4 separate regions of the Homo sapiens genome follow, and regions 1, 2 and 3 are each linked to region 4. The links are contacts of gene promoters, found by promoter capture Hi-C in human tissues and cell types (Jung and others, 2019). All regions are on one chromosome and are shown on one strand. Each heading gives the region's core, a stretch centred on a gene start or on the middle of the fragment in contact. The rest is flanking DNA. Distances are from core to core; before and after follow the strand shown.

What was found. The method cuts DNA at HindIII sites, captures the fragments that hold promoters and counts their contacts. A contact is called where the count stands out against the background at its distance.
Region 1: the fragment with the promoter of CLPS here is called in contact with the fragment with the promoter of SRSF3 in region 4 in 1 of the 25 tissues and cell types used here (pancreas).
Region 2: a contact is called between a fragment that was not itself captured here and the fragment with the promoter of SRSF3 in region 4, in 1 of the 25 tissues and cell types used here (hippocampus).
Region 3: a fragment that was not itself captured here is called in contact with the fragment with the promoter of SRSF3 in region 4 in 1 of the 25 tissues and cell types used here (psoas muscle).

What each region holds. Positions count from the first base shown.
Region 1 is chr6:35,795,720-35,799,821 of GRCh38, reverse strand. It overlaps CLPS (colipase), which reads left to right and starts at 2,499. Exons shown (of 3, transcript NM_001832.4): 1 at 2,499-2,617; 2 at 3,969-4,091. The coding sequence starts at 2,534. The HindIII fragment of the contact is 7,222 bases long and covers 1,579-4,102 here.
Region 2 is chr6:35,602,017-35,605,847 of GRCh38, reverse strand. The region is part of intron 5 of FKBP5 (FKBP prolyl isomerase 5); the gene reads left to right. Among named protein-coding and RNA genes, the nearest start is that of LINC03135, 60 kb to the right of the region's middle. RefSeq lists a silencer at 3,182-3,476. The HindIII fragment of the contact is 9,658 bases long and covers 1-3,831 here.
Region 3 is chr6:37,493,538-37,497,860 of GRCh38, reverse strand. All of the region lies in intron 1 of CCDC167 (coiled-coil domain containing 167), which reads left to right. Among named protein-coding and RNA genes, the nearest start is that of CCDC167, 4.2 kb to the left of the region's middle. The HindIII fragment of the contact is 5,400 bases long and covers 1-4,323 here.
Region 4 is chr6:36,592,596-36,596,418 of GRCh38, reverse strand. SRSF3 (serine and arginine rich splicing factor 3) reads right to left here and starts at 2,057. Exons shown (of 6, transcript NM_003017.5): 1 at 1,938-2,057. RefSeq lists enhancers at 1,770-1,999, 1,600-2,281, 2,390-2,549. The HindIII fragment of the contact is 3,355 bases long and covers 1,377-3,823 here.

The DNA of each region.
Region 1 (4,102 bases), core at 1,250-3,749, 800 kb after region 4:
TGGCACATGCCTGTAATCCCAGCTACTCGAGAGGCCGAGGCAGGAGAATCACTTGAACCCAGGAGGCGGAGGTTGCAGTGAGCCAAGATCATGCCATTGCACTCCAACCTGGGCAACAAGAGCGAAACTCTGTCTCAACAGCAACAACAACTCTAAAACTCTAGTCTCCTGCACCTGCACAGCCGGCTCTGCATGAAATACTCTTTCTCCACTGCAATTCCCCTGTCTTGATGAATCGGCTCTATCTAGGTAGTGGGCAAGGTGAACCCCTTCAGTGGTTACATCCTGAGGGCTGTGTCACAGGCCATGGTTGCTCATATTTGGCTCAGAATAAATCTATTCAAATATTGTACAGAGTTTGACTCTTTTCATTGACAGGTACTTAATTTTTGCTTTCCTTTTAGAAGCACATACAGTGTCAAAGTTCTCTTTGCTACACTTCATTTGTAATGGAAAAAACTCCAGCCTTTTTTCTTTGCAAGCTTGGCTGAGACCAACTAGGGACAGGGCTGATGGTTTTCACAGCTCCCTTCATGGAGAGAAATCACTCCTCTGATTCCTTTGCCAGTCTCCATCTTGACTTGTGAGAAGGGAATAGTGATTCCCTTCTCTGTGGCTCACCTCACAGAGGTCCTGGGGGTGGGGAGCAGGTAGAGAAAAGAGAAGGAAGGATCAGAGTGAACTCATAGGAAAAAGTGCTTTCAAACATTGAGTTCTATAAAAGAGAGGGGGGATAGTGTTCTTTCATCAATGGTATTTCTGCATCGCTGGAACCAAATTGGTTTTTCTCATTTTGAGAGTCTCCTGGTTGTTCCTCCAGCTATTTCTCTACATTCCACACCCCAGGGATGTAAAGGTGAGAGGAAGGGGGTCATATTACATGGCTGGGCACCCACCATGTGCCAGGCACTTCCGAAGGTGTTCCACGTGCATTGTCTTAATCATGACCTCAGGAAGTAGGAGGCGTTATCCCCCTAAGATAAATAAGGAAAGTGAGGTTCAGGGAGCTTCACTTTCAATAATGTGTCTGAGGCCACGTAGCTCCAGTAAATGCTGAATTTTGAAGCCAGCTTGGTCTGGATCAAAGCTGTGCTTGAGGCTGGGCACAGTGGCTCACACCTGTAATCCCAACACTTTAGGAGGCCGAGGTGGGAAGATTGCTTGAGCCCACGAGTTTTAGACCTGGGAGGCTTAGGGGGAAGATTGCTTGATCTCAGGAGGTGGAGGCTGCAGTGAGCCAAGATGGCACAACTGCACTTCGGCCTAGGTGACAGAGTGAGACCTTGTCTCAAAAAATTAAATTAAATTAAATTAAAAGCTGTGCTTGAGGCCTGGGCCTCTCAGTGGAGCTGTCTTCTACCTCCTGGGATGGAGAGGGGAAGGGCAGGGGCCTCTGGCTGCCATGACTAGTCCTTCAGGAAAAGCTGCTCTGTTCCCATGCCTGAGCAAACTCAGGCAGCTGTGCCCTTCCCAGCTTCCTGAGGCCCCTGCTCCATCTGAGGCTCATGAGACCTCTTCATTCTCAGCCAGGACTAGCGACTGCTCACGCGCGCACGTGGCCTTGGGTAGGGGGCAGCGTGAGTGGAAACCTTAACTAAAGGGGTGAGTATCTGATGCTGGAATTGCAGATAGTAAGTGAGGTAGAAAGGAAAGGGGAGAGAGGCATTTAGGAAGGGCCTCCTAAGGGCCCTTGAGTCAGGCCTGCAGGCAGCCCCTGGTGTGAGGGCAGGGGGAGGGTGCCAAAGTGAAAGCACACACACCCTGGCCTGCTGGGGGTTGCAGAACTGTCAGCCCCAGGGATCTGGGCATGGCCTGGAATCCCCCGAGGAGACTGAAGGAAGGTTGAGGGGTGGGAGGCTAGGATCCTCGTCCCTGGAGTCTGACACTGCTAGACACCTGGGCTTGGGTGGGCCAAAGGCAAGGCCTGACTATAGTGAGGCAGAGAGGCCCCAAGTACACAGAATGTAAGCAGGCACTCACACCATAGGTGCCTCTCTTGCCTTGGATTCGTCCAGGCACTGCCCAGGAGCTCAAGACACAAGGGCAGCCACCCTTACCCACTGCTTATGTGGCATATGGGAATATACAATATAAATATATTCTTATAATTGTATATAATAATGTTTATATATATGTAACACATAAATGTGTATTAATTCAACCCTCACAACTCTTTAAATTATCCTTAGTTGACAGATAAGATGAAAGGCAGAATAGTTGGAACAGATAGTAAGTTTGCCTCACTAATAACTTGTACACAGTCCATACTCTTAACCACGATGCAACACAATTATCACCAACACACACACACACACACACACACACACACACACACACACGAAAAAGGCCACCAGGTACTCACCCAGTTTCCTTATCAGGAACCGCCCCACAGCAGATTGGCCACAGCTGTGCCTCTGCCCACGGCCAGCCCTGTGGGATGCAGGTGGATCTCGTGAGGTCAGGGCCCCTTTTATAGCCCCATCACCACAGCTGGCTCTGTCTCCCGCCACCCACACCAGCTGTCCCACTCACCATGGAGAAGATCCTGATCCTCCTGCTTGTCGCCCTCTCTGTGGCCTATGCAGCTCCTGGCCCCCGGGGGATCATTATCAACCTGGTAAGAGGGTCTTCAGGGGAGGCGCCTCCTGAGTCCCCAGATGAAGACTTCCTAAGCTTGGACCTTGACCTCTGATGTCTCCACCTGGACTGGCAGGGGCTGGGAGGAGTGGCATCTTGCATCCCTCTGTTTACTTCCATGTCCTGTCCTATGCCTCTTCCCAGAGGCCACAGGAAAGGCTGATCAGCCCCTCTCCAGCTCCAACTGGAGCATGCTCAGAGCAGCAGCTCAACCTGGCTATGAGGGACCTTTTTTTTCTTTTTTTTCTTTTTGAAACGGAGTCTTGCTCTGTCACCAGGCTGGAGTGTAGTGGCACAATCTCGGCTCACTGCAATCTCTGCTTCCCGGGTTCAAATGATTCTCCTGCCTCAGCCTCCCAAGAAGCTGGGATTACAGGTGCCTGCCATAACGCTCAGCTATTTTTTGTATTTTTAGTAGAAATAGGGTTTCACCATGTTGCCCAGGCTAGTCTCAAACTCCTGACCTCGTGATCCGCCCACCTCGGCCTCCCAAAGTGCTGGGATTACAGGCATGAGCCACCTCACCTGGCCCTACGAGGGAGCTTTGTAAAAATCCAGAGCCCTGGGCTTCCATCCTGAGAAAATGCTTTGCGCCAATCATTCCAGCTTCTGACTTATGGAGATGCCTCGGAGATGTTTACTCATTCTGTTCTCATAATAACCACTGAGGGAGGTGTTTTCAGAGTCAGCCCTGTCTTCAGACAGAGAGAGGGTGAGCAACCTGCCTGAGGTCACATAGCTGGAAAGTGGTTCAGCTGGGGCCCCACCACTGCCCCACACCACCTCTCCACCATGGGTCTTGGCTGGGAAAGCCCTTCCAGAACGTCCATGCGGTTGAAAGGTTCTGAACTCTCTTAACTTGGGGCCATGGCTGGACTTGGAGGTCCAGGACCCTTGGAGATTATAGATCAGATCTGTTGGGGGAGGAAGGAGTCTTGCAGGGAGATGCAATCTTCACCGCCTCCTTAAAGAGGTGTGGGACCCAGAGTGGTTTGGAGAACTTGTCTAGGGGCCTTGTGTGCACATTCCAAATGGGAACACTGAGGCTTGGGAGGCAGTGACTTGCCCAGAGTCACACAGGAGGTTGGTAGCACAGCCGGTACTAGAACCCAGGGGTCCTGACCCTCTGTGCAAGTCTGCTTCTCTGTCACCGCATGCCCACTTCTCACGTGGGTGGGGGGCACAGAGGCCACCAGACCCAGGGGATGGACTCCTTCACACACATCCCTACCAGGGGAGACACTGTTAGTGGTAGTGTGTGGTGGGTACAGGTCTGAATGGAGAAGGGACCTGAGGGAGTGGGGCCTGGGCTGACTGGCTGCTCCTGGCAGGAGAACGGTGAGCTCTGCATGAATAGTGCCCAGTGTAAGAGCAATTGCTGCCAGCATTCAAGTGCGCTGGGCCTGGCCCGCTGCACATCCATGGCCAGCGAGAACAGCGAGTGCTCTGTCAAGGTGGGTGCCTG
Region 2 (3,831 bases), core at 10-2,509, 990 kb after region 4:
TGCCTGATTGCTCAGGCTAGGACTTGCCGCATACTGATTGCTGTGGCTCAGTACCATGCTGAATAGGAGTTGTTAAGAGTGGACACCCTGTTTTTTTCCAGTTCTTAGGCGGAATGCTTCCAACTTTTGCCCGTTCAGTATGATATTGACGGCTGGGTGCAGTGGTTCACACCTGTAATCCCAAGACTTTGGAAGGCCGAGGCAGGAGGATTGCATGAGCCTAGGAGTTCAAGACCAGCCTGGGCAGCATAGTGAAACCTTGTCTCTACTAAAAATAAAAAAAATTAGCCACACATAGTGGCATGCACCTGTAGTCCCAGCTTACTTGGGAGGCTGATGCAGGAGGATCACTTGAGCCTGGGTGATACAGGCTTCGGTGAGTTATGGTTGCACCACTGCACTCCAGCCTGGGCAATGGAATAAGACCTTGTCTCAAAAAAAAAAAAAAAAAAAAAAAAAAAAAAGATATTGTCATAGGTGGCTCTTATTATTTTGAAGTATGTTCCTTTGATGCTTAGTTTATTGAGGGTTTTTTATAATGAAGGGATGTTGGATTTTATTGAATGCTTTATGCTGATTGATTCTGAACATTGATAAAGAGGTATATATATATATCTTTAAATGATTTGTTCAGACTTTAATGGAAAGTACTAGTAAGAATAGCATGTAGAATTTCCAAATCACCCCATGTGGAGTGGGGAAATAGAGGAACAAGGAAAACTTCATCAATTGAGCAAAAATTGTTTTAAAAAATAAGAAAACACGGGCCGGGCACGGTGGCTCACGCCTGTAATCCCAGCACTTTGGGAGGCCGAGGCACGTGGATCACGAGGTCAGGAATCGAGACCATCCTGGCTAACATGGTGAAACCCCATCTCTACTAAAAATACAAAAAATTAGCTGGGCATGGTGGCGGGCGCCTGTAGTCCCAGCTACTTGGGAGGCAGGAGAATGGCGTGAACCCGGGAGGTGGAGGTTGTAGTGAGCCGAGATCACACCACTGCACTCCAGCCTGGGCAACAGAGCGAGACTCCATCTCAAAAAAAAAAAGAAAACACTGTGTAGAAAACCAAAGACAAGAATAAAACCACTCATATCAGTGATTACAAAAAATATGAATGGGATAAAGTCACCTATTAAAGGCAAAAGGTCTCATAAAGTGAGAACAACAACAGTATCTAGCTATGTGTTCTTTATAAATGAAACACTAAAATCAAAAAGGTACCAAAAATTGAAAATAGAGGAAAGATTACGTCTGCCCATATTGAGATCTGATGGAGCTGTGAGACTTTACATTTTTGTTTTTCATATGCTTTTGAAGTATTTATGAATGTCCTGGGATATAAGTCTAGGAATAGGAGCAAATTCTTGAAACCATTTTATTATATGTTTTCACAAAATAATGTAATATGGTACTTGGTCTAAAGTGGCCAGTGTTTATTCTTTCAAATATTTTGGATTTATATAATTTCTTTCTTCCAAAAAGTTATCTTCAAGTCTTCAGGTAGAATAAAATCATAGTAGAAAATAAGTCTTTCTGGCCAGCCATGGTGGCTCACGCTTGTAATCCCAACACTTCGGGAAGCCAAGGTGGGAGGGTTGCTTGAGGCCAGGAGTACAAGACCAGCCTGGCAACATGGTGAGACCCCATTCTTAACAACAACAACAACAAAATAGCCAGGCGTGGTGGTGTGTGCCTGTAGTCCCAGCTACTAGGGAGGCTGAGGAAGGAGAGTAGCTTGAGTCCAGGAGTGTGAGGCTGCAGTGAGCCATGATCACACCACTGCACTCCAGGCTGGGCAACAAAGTGAGACCCCCAACTCAAAACAAAAACAATAAAGAGGCCGGGCACGGTGGCTCACACCTGTAATCCCAGCACTCTGGGAGGCCAAGGCTGGAGGATCACTTGAGGTCGGGAGTTCAAGACCAGCCTGGCCAACATGGCGAAACCCCATCTCTACTAAAAACACAAAAATTAGCTGGGCATGGTGGTGCGGGCCTGTAGTCCCAGCTACTTGGGAGTCTGAGGCACAAGAAGTCCTTGAACTCGGGAGGCAGATGGTTGCAGTAAGTGAAGGTTGTAGTGAGGCAAGATCACGCCACTACACTCCAGCCTGGGCAACAGAACGAGACTCTGTCTCAAAAAAAGAAAGAAAACAGTCTTTTGTTGCTGCTGCTGCTGTTGTTGTTGTTACAAAAAAAAAAAAAATTCCAGCCAATTGGCCATTTATTTTAGAATAGTATTAAAAAACAAAGTTTCCATATCAATATAAAATTTGTATAGCTTCCTAGAATTTATTAAAATAGGAATACTAATAGATTCAAAAAGGAAAATTTGTATAAATTAGTGAAAATTACCACCCTGTCCTTAATGCCCTATTTTAAGATTAGTCATTAAATAAATATTTACTTGCTGGCCCTGAACTCTGTGCTGGGTACTGTGAGGCACAAAAGAAGTACAAGATACTGCCTTTGCCTACTAAGAATTTTATTCATACTTTGACAGCTTTCTGTGTTGAACCAGTAAATGTTTTCTTACACAGAGCTCTAAAACATGTTTAATCTGGTATAATTTACCACTAGGCACAGGAAAATAATTATAGCTAACATTCCTTTAGTTTGTCTCTGTATATCCACACTTAACAACAGCATTTTCACATGATAGACACCCTGACATATGAATGAATGAATGAATGAATATCAGGTGCTAGATTAAAAGCTCTAATTCAGTATCTAATTTAATCCTCTCAACAATTATCATTTAGCTAGTGTATTATCCACATTCTATCAGTGAAGAAACTGAGCTTCAGATCACTTTAATTACCTTGCCCAAAGTCATAATTGAAGTGGCAGAATGGGACTGGAATCCAGGTCTAACTCAAGTGCTATAGTGGTGTGAAGGGAAGACTGGTAAGGGTTGGTGTTCATGGAGAATTTGTTGCTGGGTGTATACTTCTTGTTTAGATTTCCTGTTTTGAAAACATTCAAACTTGATCAACCAAAAGAAATCATTTGCATAAATGTTATTCAGTTCCAGGAGCCAGGTTCCACGCCTGTTAGCATCTGTCCGTCAGTTCTGTAAGCAATCTTACAGTGGTGTGTGTTCATCCTAAGTAGTACAAAACAGTGCAGAGGAGGAAGGCGGACAGCTTAGGGGAAATCTGACCACCATGCGTGTTGGAAGTATTTCTCTTGTTCTCCTGCTTTTAGAAAGCCATCTCTGCTTGCTTTTTCAGGGGGTTATTAAGATCCTACTCTCTTGGATACTGTGCTCTATTAGGCAGGAGACACAGGCAGAAAGAAGCTCACTTGGCATGAATTAGGCAACAGAGAAAACTCTTGCTCAGTGGGAGTAACCTGTCACAACCTGGTTTTCTCTGGCCAGATAACCAGTCTTGTCGAGTAGTAATGCCATTACAACATTCCCATTCAGATCCTCATGACCCAGTAATTGTTTTGAGAATGAGTGCAAAGCTATCAGACACCAACTACTATAATTAGAAAAGGGAAAAATAGACACTTACCAGAGCTAATGTCTTTAGGCTGGAGCATTTACAGCTTTTTGTTTTTTGTTTTTTAAGTTATGGAGCCTCTTTCTCAGTTTTGCTTCCTAAAATACAAATTGCATGGTTTAGGGGTTCTTGCATTTCATTTTTGTTACTGCTGTGCACTCTCTTTCCTTTTTTCCCCCCTATTTTAATCGGAGTACAAATTGCTGTCAGCACATCGAGTTCATGTGCCAGCCACATTCAGAACAGGGTGTTCTGTGCTCTTCAAAACAAAATTGCTCTAGGGCAGTAAGAGAACAATAAGTCAGAGCTCCAGTTTAAG
Region 3 (4,323 bases), core at 1,081-3,580, 900 kb before region 4:
GCTTTTGAGACAGAATCTCACTCTCGCCCAGGCTGGAGTGTAGTGGTGCACTCTTGGCTCTGCAACCTCCACCTCCCATTCAAGTGTTCACCCCCACCTTCCCCCGACACAGCCTCTCTAGTAGCCAGGATTAGACCACCACCACATCCGGCTAATTTTTGTATTTTTGGTAAAGACGGGGGTCTTGCCATGTCGGCCAGGCTGGTCTCGAACTCCTGACCTTAGGTGATCTGCCCACCTCGGCCTCCCAAAGTGCTGGGATTAGAGGTGTGAGCCACTGCCTGATTTTGCTGTTTAAAGTGCCCCCGATCCCCGACCCCCGACCCCAAGCATAGGGCTGAAGTGCTGTCTGGCATTCCTAAATCCAAGAAGGCTGTGATGTGTTGTAGAAGAAAACAGGTTTTTTAGATAAACTGTTCAGGCATGATATAACTCATGATGTAACAGCACGTATAGTGCTGTTGGTTGTGAGTCCAGTGTTAATGAATCAACAATATATATTGAATAAGGTCACTTTAAACAGAATCACACATGAAACAAGGTTGCAAAAATGTTGTGTCCATAGGCTTGCAGGAACCTCACCTGGTTTGGTATTTGCTAATTCAATATTAGAGGCAACTTTATAGGACATAGCTACCAGGAACAACAAGAACCAACTGTATTCAGGCTAAGGTAGGAGTATGTAAATGAAGGAATATGTAAATAAGTGGGTGTGTCAGTGTTCCACTAAAGCTTTATCTGCAAGAACAGTCCTTAGACCATTTGGCCACAGGGCTTAGTTGCCAACTCCTGGTCTAGAGTACCAGGTCTATGGTGGTTCTGCCAGATTCCCTTCCTCTGTGGCTTCACCATCTCTTGAGATCTTGTCACCTTATCAGTGGAACCGGGGCATACCCCACTGATGTGTCCACCGGCAGAGAAAGAGGAGAATGGAGGAAGCACACCCACTGTCCTGGGCCCAAACTGTCCACTTTCCATTGGCAAGAACTAAAACCCCACCTGACTGCAAGGGATCAGGGAAATGCGTTCACCAGTCAGGAGGCCACATAGCCAGCTACTGTTTGCTTACTATGGAGGAAGAGACCAGTGTGTTTTCACAGACAGCCTGTAGTCTCACTACAGATGGCACCTCACCTCACAGTGTGGTTGTGAGGATTAAATGAGACATTGCGTTAAGTGCCCAGCACGTGCCTGGCACCGGATTGGTAATCAATACATGGTAGCTCCAGCCTTTGTATTTCTTTTGCATCCTTCCACCATGGCTAAGTCAAACTCGTTCTTGGGCATTCGTTCACTCATCTATAACATGAAGGACTTGAATTTCACCAGGGGTTACAAACTCCTTGACTATGGCCCAAATACAGATCACAGATGTCTTCTGTTTGGCTGACAGACTTTTAAGTTTTTATTTTATTTTATTTTATTTTTAGACAGGGTCTTGCTCTGTTGCCCAGGCTGTAGTGCAGCGGCATGATCTCAGCTCACTGCAGCCTCCAGCCTCCCGGGTTCAAGCAATTCTCGTGCCTTAGCCTCCCGAGAAGCTGAGACTACAGGCGTGCACCACCATGCCCAGCTAAGTTTTGTATTTTTAGTAGAGACGGGGTTTCACCATGTTGGCCAGCTGGTCTTGAACTCCTGACCTCAAGTGATCCGCCCGCCTCGGCCTCCCAAAGTGCTGGGATTACAGGCGTGAGCCACCACACTCGGCCGGATTTTTACGTTTTTAAACTTGGTGGGGCATGTATTCTCCAAGTGCCTTATACTGGGGCAGATTCCATTGTTTTACCCTCTCCATACCACGGTAGATGTTTATATTTGCTATCTTGGTCCCTAAGTTTACTTTTTGCTTGGATATTCGAAGATTTGACATCTGTAACCGTGTGCCTTGGAAAAAGCCTGACATCTGGCTGGCTGTCTCCCCACCTTGCTTCTCAGTTGCCCCCAGCGGGTCTGAGTATTGAATGTGCACTGATGCTCAGTAGCAGTAGATATTGTCCTCTTATTAAAAGTTGTGTGCTCAGAGCCAATGAAGTGGTGATTTAATCAAAAATGTTTGTTAATCTGACGAGTGCAATAAAACCCCCACAAGTGAGTGATCTCAGCACCTGCAAACAGTCTCCACTTGTAATGAAGCAATTACCAAGCAGGCAGCACTCACCCTTAGGGCTGGCTTGGGCCAGCTGTATAAGCAGCCACCTCTTAGGACAACCAGGGCACCCTCTAGCCTCCCCCTCAAAGTGGTTCCTTTTGAGGTCTTTTTATCCAATTCATTTGCCACCATATGAGATCTCAGAGTTGGAAAAAACTGTGAGTTTTAGCTTCTGAGATTTCATTCTTAATAAGAAAAGAAAATTATAGTTCAAATGAGAAATCACCCACCCAGTACTGATTTTAATGTTGTGTGGGAGGAAGGAAAGGTTGAATTTCAGTCTAAACTGATAGGAGAATTTTGACTGATGTAAAACCTGTTTGTGTTTTCGGATCTCTGATGGTAATGAGCTGTTCCTTTGTCATTGCACTTTTCTTTTGTAGCTGGACTGTTCAAACTGGTGTCTTTAGATGTTTCAGTGACCAGTTGGTCTTGAGTTAACAGATGTGTGGTGTCTTAGCCGGTATCCTAAAGTGGATAACTTGGTTGGATCTGACCCCTAGTACAGAAAGTTTATCAGTTTGGAAAGCTTTTGGCTACAAGTTATAGAAAACTGACCTCAATGATTTAAGCAAATGGGAGTAGACTTTTCCCCTTATAGAAATTTGTAGGGGCCAGGTGCAGTGGCTCACGCCTGTAATCCCAGTATTTTGGGAGGCTGAGGCAGGTGCATCATTTGAGGTCAGGAGTTCGAGACCAGCCTGACCAACATGGTGAAACACCATCTCTACTAAAAATACAAAAATTAGCCAGGAGTGGTGGTACACGCCTGTAATCCCAGCTACTCGGGAGGCTGAGGCAGGAGAATTGCTTGAACCCAGGAGGTGGAGGTTGCAGTGAGCCAAGATCGTGCCACTGCACTCCAGTCTGGGCAACAGAGACCCCGTCTCAAAAAAAAAAAAAAAATTTGTAGGTAGGTGGCTACTGGCATTGGTTCAAAAGCTTAGCTATGTCAGAGTTGGTATTTCTGCATTCTCTTCACTGTTTCCTCATGGTCACAATATAGCTGCCACAGCTCCAGTCTAATATTCAACTTTAACTCAGGAAGGAGGAGGAAGGAACAACACTGTCCCTTTTATCAACAAAGCATAAGCTTCCCCAGGAGTCTCCTAGCTGACTTCTGGAACGTCTCATTGGCCAGAACTGGGTCATGAGCAAGCCTAGCTGCAGTGAGGTTGGGAGAGCATCTGCTGAGCTTTTCCACCTTCTGGAGTAGAGGTGGGCAAAGGAGCAGGGGTGGGGAGTCGGTGTTGTGTTGGCCAGTTGACAGTATCTGCTGTAAGGAATAAATGCTAATGGGAGTCATTGAAAATTCACTGGAATCCTTACCAGAAAAAGAGGGCAGGATCGGCTGGGTGCGGTGGCTCACGCCTGTAATCCCAACACTTTGGGAGGCCCAGGCGGGCGGATCACCTGAGGTCACGAGTTCGAGACCAGCCTGACCAACGTGGAGAAACCCCATCTACTAAAAATACAAAATTAGCCAGGCATGGGGGTACATGCCTGTAATCCCAGCTACTCGGGAGGCTGAGGCAGGAGAATCGCTTGAACCTGGGAGGTGGAGGTTGCGGTGAGCCGAGATGGTGCCATCGCACTCTAGCCTGGGCAACAAGAGGGAAACTTCGTCTCAAAAAAAAAAAAAAAAAAAAAAAAAAGGCAGGATCACTGACCATGAGAAGTGGTAGGCTGAGGGGAGAGAATGGCCTAGGCCAGGAAGAGCACCGGAAGGCTTGACGCTTGTGGTTATTTGTATGGTGCCAGCCACTGCAGTAGCCTCCGTGGGGCAGGGCAGGCAGAAGCACCAAGTGTGGCTGAAGACGGTCTCCGCTCTGGAGCAGGCTGTGCACAGGGCTCAGGGGAACCTCCCACTTTCCTGAGACAAGGGCTAGGAGCAGGTGAGTGGACTGTCAATAAATATTTGCTGAACTGGCTCGATTGGCAGGAGGAGGCATTGAACCTTCCACCCTGACGTCTGGGCCCAGTTGAGTGGAGGTCACAGTAGAGCAGGCGGTTAGACGCCACCTTGCTGGGACCCTGAACCCCAAGCCAGGGGCTGGGAGAAAGGCTCGCAGCACGCAGAGGACTGTTCAGGGGCCGCTGACCATTAAATGAGCCTCACCTGCTGCCAGGCGAGAGCGACAGGTCGCCATTGGGCAGGTGATTTCTCGCGGCAG
Region 4 (3,823 bases), core at 808-3,307:
CCCAAAATAAAGCATTTCTAGAAAAACAGAAGAGAATTCTGTTGGGGACTCAAAACTAAATAAAACAATGATGAAGAAAGCTAGTCCTTAAGGTTATACTACCAGGCAAGCGATTCAAAGTACCTACATAAGCCAAAACTTACCAGCTTTAATAAAAATAAGGCCAACGATTTTCACTTTTAAAAAAATGCCCATGGACCGGGCGCGGCGGCTCACACCTGCAATCCCAGAACTTTTGGGAAGCCGAGGCGGGCGAATCACGAGGTCAGGAGTTCGACCCAGCCTGGCCAATATGGTGAAACCCCGTCACAACTAAAAATACAAAAATTAGCCGGGCATGGTGGCGCACACCTGTAGTCCCAGCTACTCGGGAGGCTGAGGCAGAACAATCGCTTGAACCCGCGAGGCGGAGGTGGCAGTGAGCCGAGATCGCGCCACTGCACTCCAGCCTCGGCGACAGAGCGAGATTCCATCGCCAAAAAAAAACCACAAATAAATAAATAAATAAATGCCTATTTTGGTCATTTGGAACTATAGGAACAAGGCTAGTATCAAATGTCATTAGATAGACCAGAGTCTTACGCGGTAAAAATTTATCAAGCAACGAGACCAACTTTACAGTTTTTTAAAAAATGTAAACTCATAGTAGCACTTATTCACAGTAGCCCAAAGATGTTAACCCAAATGTCCATCAACAGAAACGGATAAGCAAAATGTGGTATAGACATAAAATGAGTATTATTCAGAATGATGTACTGACAAATCCTCCAACGTTGGAAAATCTTGAAAACATTACGCTAAGTTAAAGAAGCCAGACATAAAAGTACACGATTCCATAAATACTAAATATCTAAAATAGCTAAGTTCAGAGAGACAGGAAGATTAGTGGTTGCTAGGGACTAGAGGAAGGGGGACAGGGAATCTGGGAGTAAGTGCTCAATGGGTAGTAGTCTCCTGCGGGGGGAGGTGACGGAAATGTTTTGGAACTACGTGTAAGTGATGATTACACAACACTGAATATACTAAATACCACTTAAAGATAATTTCACTTTAATAAAAAATTACAAAGAGATATTTGCTACTAAAAAATTTACTGCACTTTGGGGACTTATTTTTTTGTTCTTCCTTGGCGGACTTGTATTTGATAAAGCTTTATTACTGAGTCACTTCGACGATGAATCTGATAAACTTGTAGACCAGTTTCAATTACATAAAAACCATCTACTCAATAATTCAGCTGAAGTGCTTTCCATAAACACCACGTTCTTCTTACTCTGGGCTTGTCTAATTAAAATATCCAGTCCAGACACATCCTATTTGCCGTGACCACACCCTGTGCCCAGGAGTAAGTTCTAAGACCAAACCACTGGTGAAAATTTTTAAAAACACTGCTGGCACCTGTCTTAAGCCTCCATTTTAATGGGAAGCGATGAAAGAACGAATCTTAAGTTCAAGGAAGATCTTTCGGTCTTAGAAAAAGGTGATTAGATTCAGGCTGCAAAATCTGAAACTACATGAAAGTAAGGTGACTACGGGGGCCATTTAATATGAACTGAAAGGTCCGGTCTTGGTTAGTGACTTTACAAAAACATTCTGAGAAGCTTCCCAATTAAATGAGGGGCCAAAAAAAAAAAAGGCGCCATAAAAATAAAAAGGCCGTGACCTGGAATACAACTCGGCTATCGGCTCCCCTTTGTGGTTCCCAACTCCCAGGTAACCCCCATCCTGGCTCATGCCCCAATGAGGAATATAAAGACTTCCACTCCAAGACTAGGAAACCCTCCGATGGGCCGGGAGCCCCCGCCACCGCCCCGTGCTGAACGTCACAAAATGGCGGCGGCGCCTCTTTGTCTCAATCTGGCGCCGCCATTGGGCCTGGCTCCTTGGTACTGTTAAATTCCATTTCCACCTCATTCCCTCTTTCGCTGGTCTCTTACCGAGATCTAGGGTTAAAAAATGCGGCGGCTCAAATCCACACGCTCCGATGAGTCTTCCCGCTTTCCTCCGGCCCAACACCAACCAACTCTCTCACTCACCCGGCGTCCACGAAATGGCGGACCACCGCCTTCTCCTCGCCTTTATTTATACGCCATACTGGAATCACATGATTGGACGGGCTCCCCCAATGAGAAGCAGAAGAGGCCGTGACGTATGGCTACAAACGCAGCGAGAGCCGCGGTTGCTGGGAGCGCGCTCTGGCGGTTGCGCCGGGTGGGTGGAGACGTGCGTCGGCGCGCGCTCGTTGTAACAGGCCTGGTGCTCCCTCGAGCGTTCCTCCCGGTCTGTCGACCTCCAGGTTACCCACAGACTCCTCTTCCTCACCTCCAAATAGGCTAGGGCTTCATAAACAGCACCGTCGCCGTCACGCTCAAACACTAATAGGAGCCGTTGGCCCCTAACAAGATTAAGAGATGAATTAATTAAGTGCTTCACCCTTGTGAGCGGTTAGTCTGGAACTAAGAGCATCGCGTTTACAAACAGGTCACGGAGCTGTTTGTGACCCAGCTGGCACCAGACTGTGGCCGCCTAGATTCCACACTGAAGGAAAAGCCTGGTTTGGAAAGTTTGCCCAACTCTTGCTGGTTTCTCGTCTCTCAAGCAAACTTGCAGGACTTGGCGCCGACAGCAAAGGAGACCGGTCAGGTGACCTGGAAACTATCACCTTTAGCAAACACCCGGAAAGGGAAGTTTCTGAAGAAGATTGAATGTAAATTCTGGCCCCCAAGCAAATGCCAGGAGGGGTATCTCGAGCCTTTCTCCTAGCAGCCGTTGCACTGCCTGGCATGTATTTTGTCCGGGCCACTTCCCTTACGAAGACAGAGCCGCAAGAGTAATTAAGGGGAGAGAGACTGTGATTGGGTTAGAAAAATCACCAAGGGCCGGGCGCGGTGGCTCATGCCTGTAATCCCAGCACTTTGGGAGGCCGAGGCAGGCGGATCACTTGAGGTCAGGAGTTCAAGACCAGCCTGGCCAACATGGTGAAATCCCGTCTCTATTAAAAATACAAATGGCCGGGCATGGTGGCAGGCGCCTGTAATCCCAGCTACTTGGGAGGCTGAGAGCAGGAGAATCGCTTGAACCCAGGAGGCGGAGGTTGCCGTGAGCTGAGATCCTACCACTGCACAAAAAAAAAAAGAGAGAAAAAGAACCTGTCTTTTTATTTATTCCCTCTTAGCTGAAAGATATGCCAATTATTATGTTTTTTTTTTTCTTTTTTCTTTTTTTTTTTTTCTTGAGATGGAGTCTCGTTCTGTTGCCCAGGCTGGAGTGCAATGGCGCGACCTCGGCTCACTGCAAACTCCGCCTCCCGGGTTCAAGCGATTCGCCTACCTCAGCTTCCCGAGTAGCTGGGATTACAGGCACCTGCCACCACACCCGGCTAATTTTTGTATTTTTAATAGAGACGGGGTTTCACCATGCTGGTCAGGCTGGTCTCGAACTCGCCACCTCAGGCGATTCTCCCGCCTCGGCCTCCCAAAGTGCTGGTATTACAGGCGTGAGCCACAGCACCCGGCCAGCCAATTAATATGTTTTAACTTTCCCAGGTATTTTTCTTTTGAAGCCTTACCTCTTATTGTGGTTCTAAAAGGTTTATCTGTAGTGGAGGAAAAAAATACAGATTTATTACATCTCAGCCTAGTTTCCTCACCTGTAAAAGGGGAGAAGGGGATCCTAGCAAACCTTTTCTTATTTCTCTCTCGTCTAGATTTTTTTTTCTGGCTCACTTATATTTGCCTTGATTTGTTCCCCTCCTCTATGTAAGCTTTTCTCCTCTTTTTCATTTTCTTTCCTTCTATCAAATCAAAGGCTCTGGAGTCAGGCA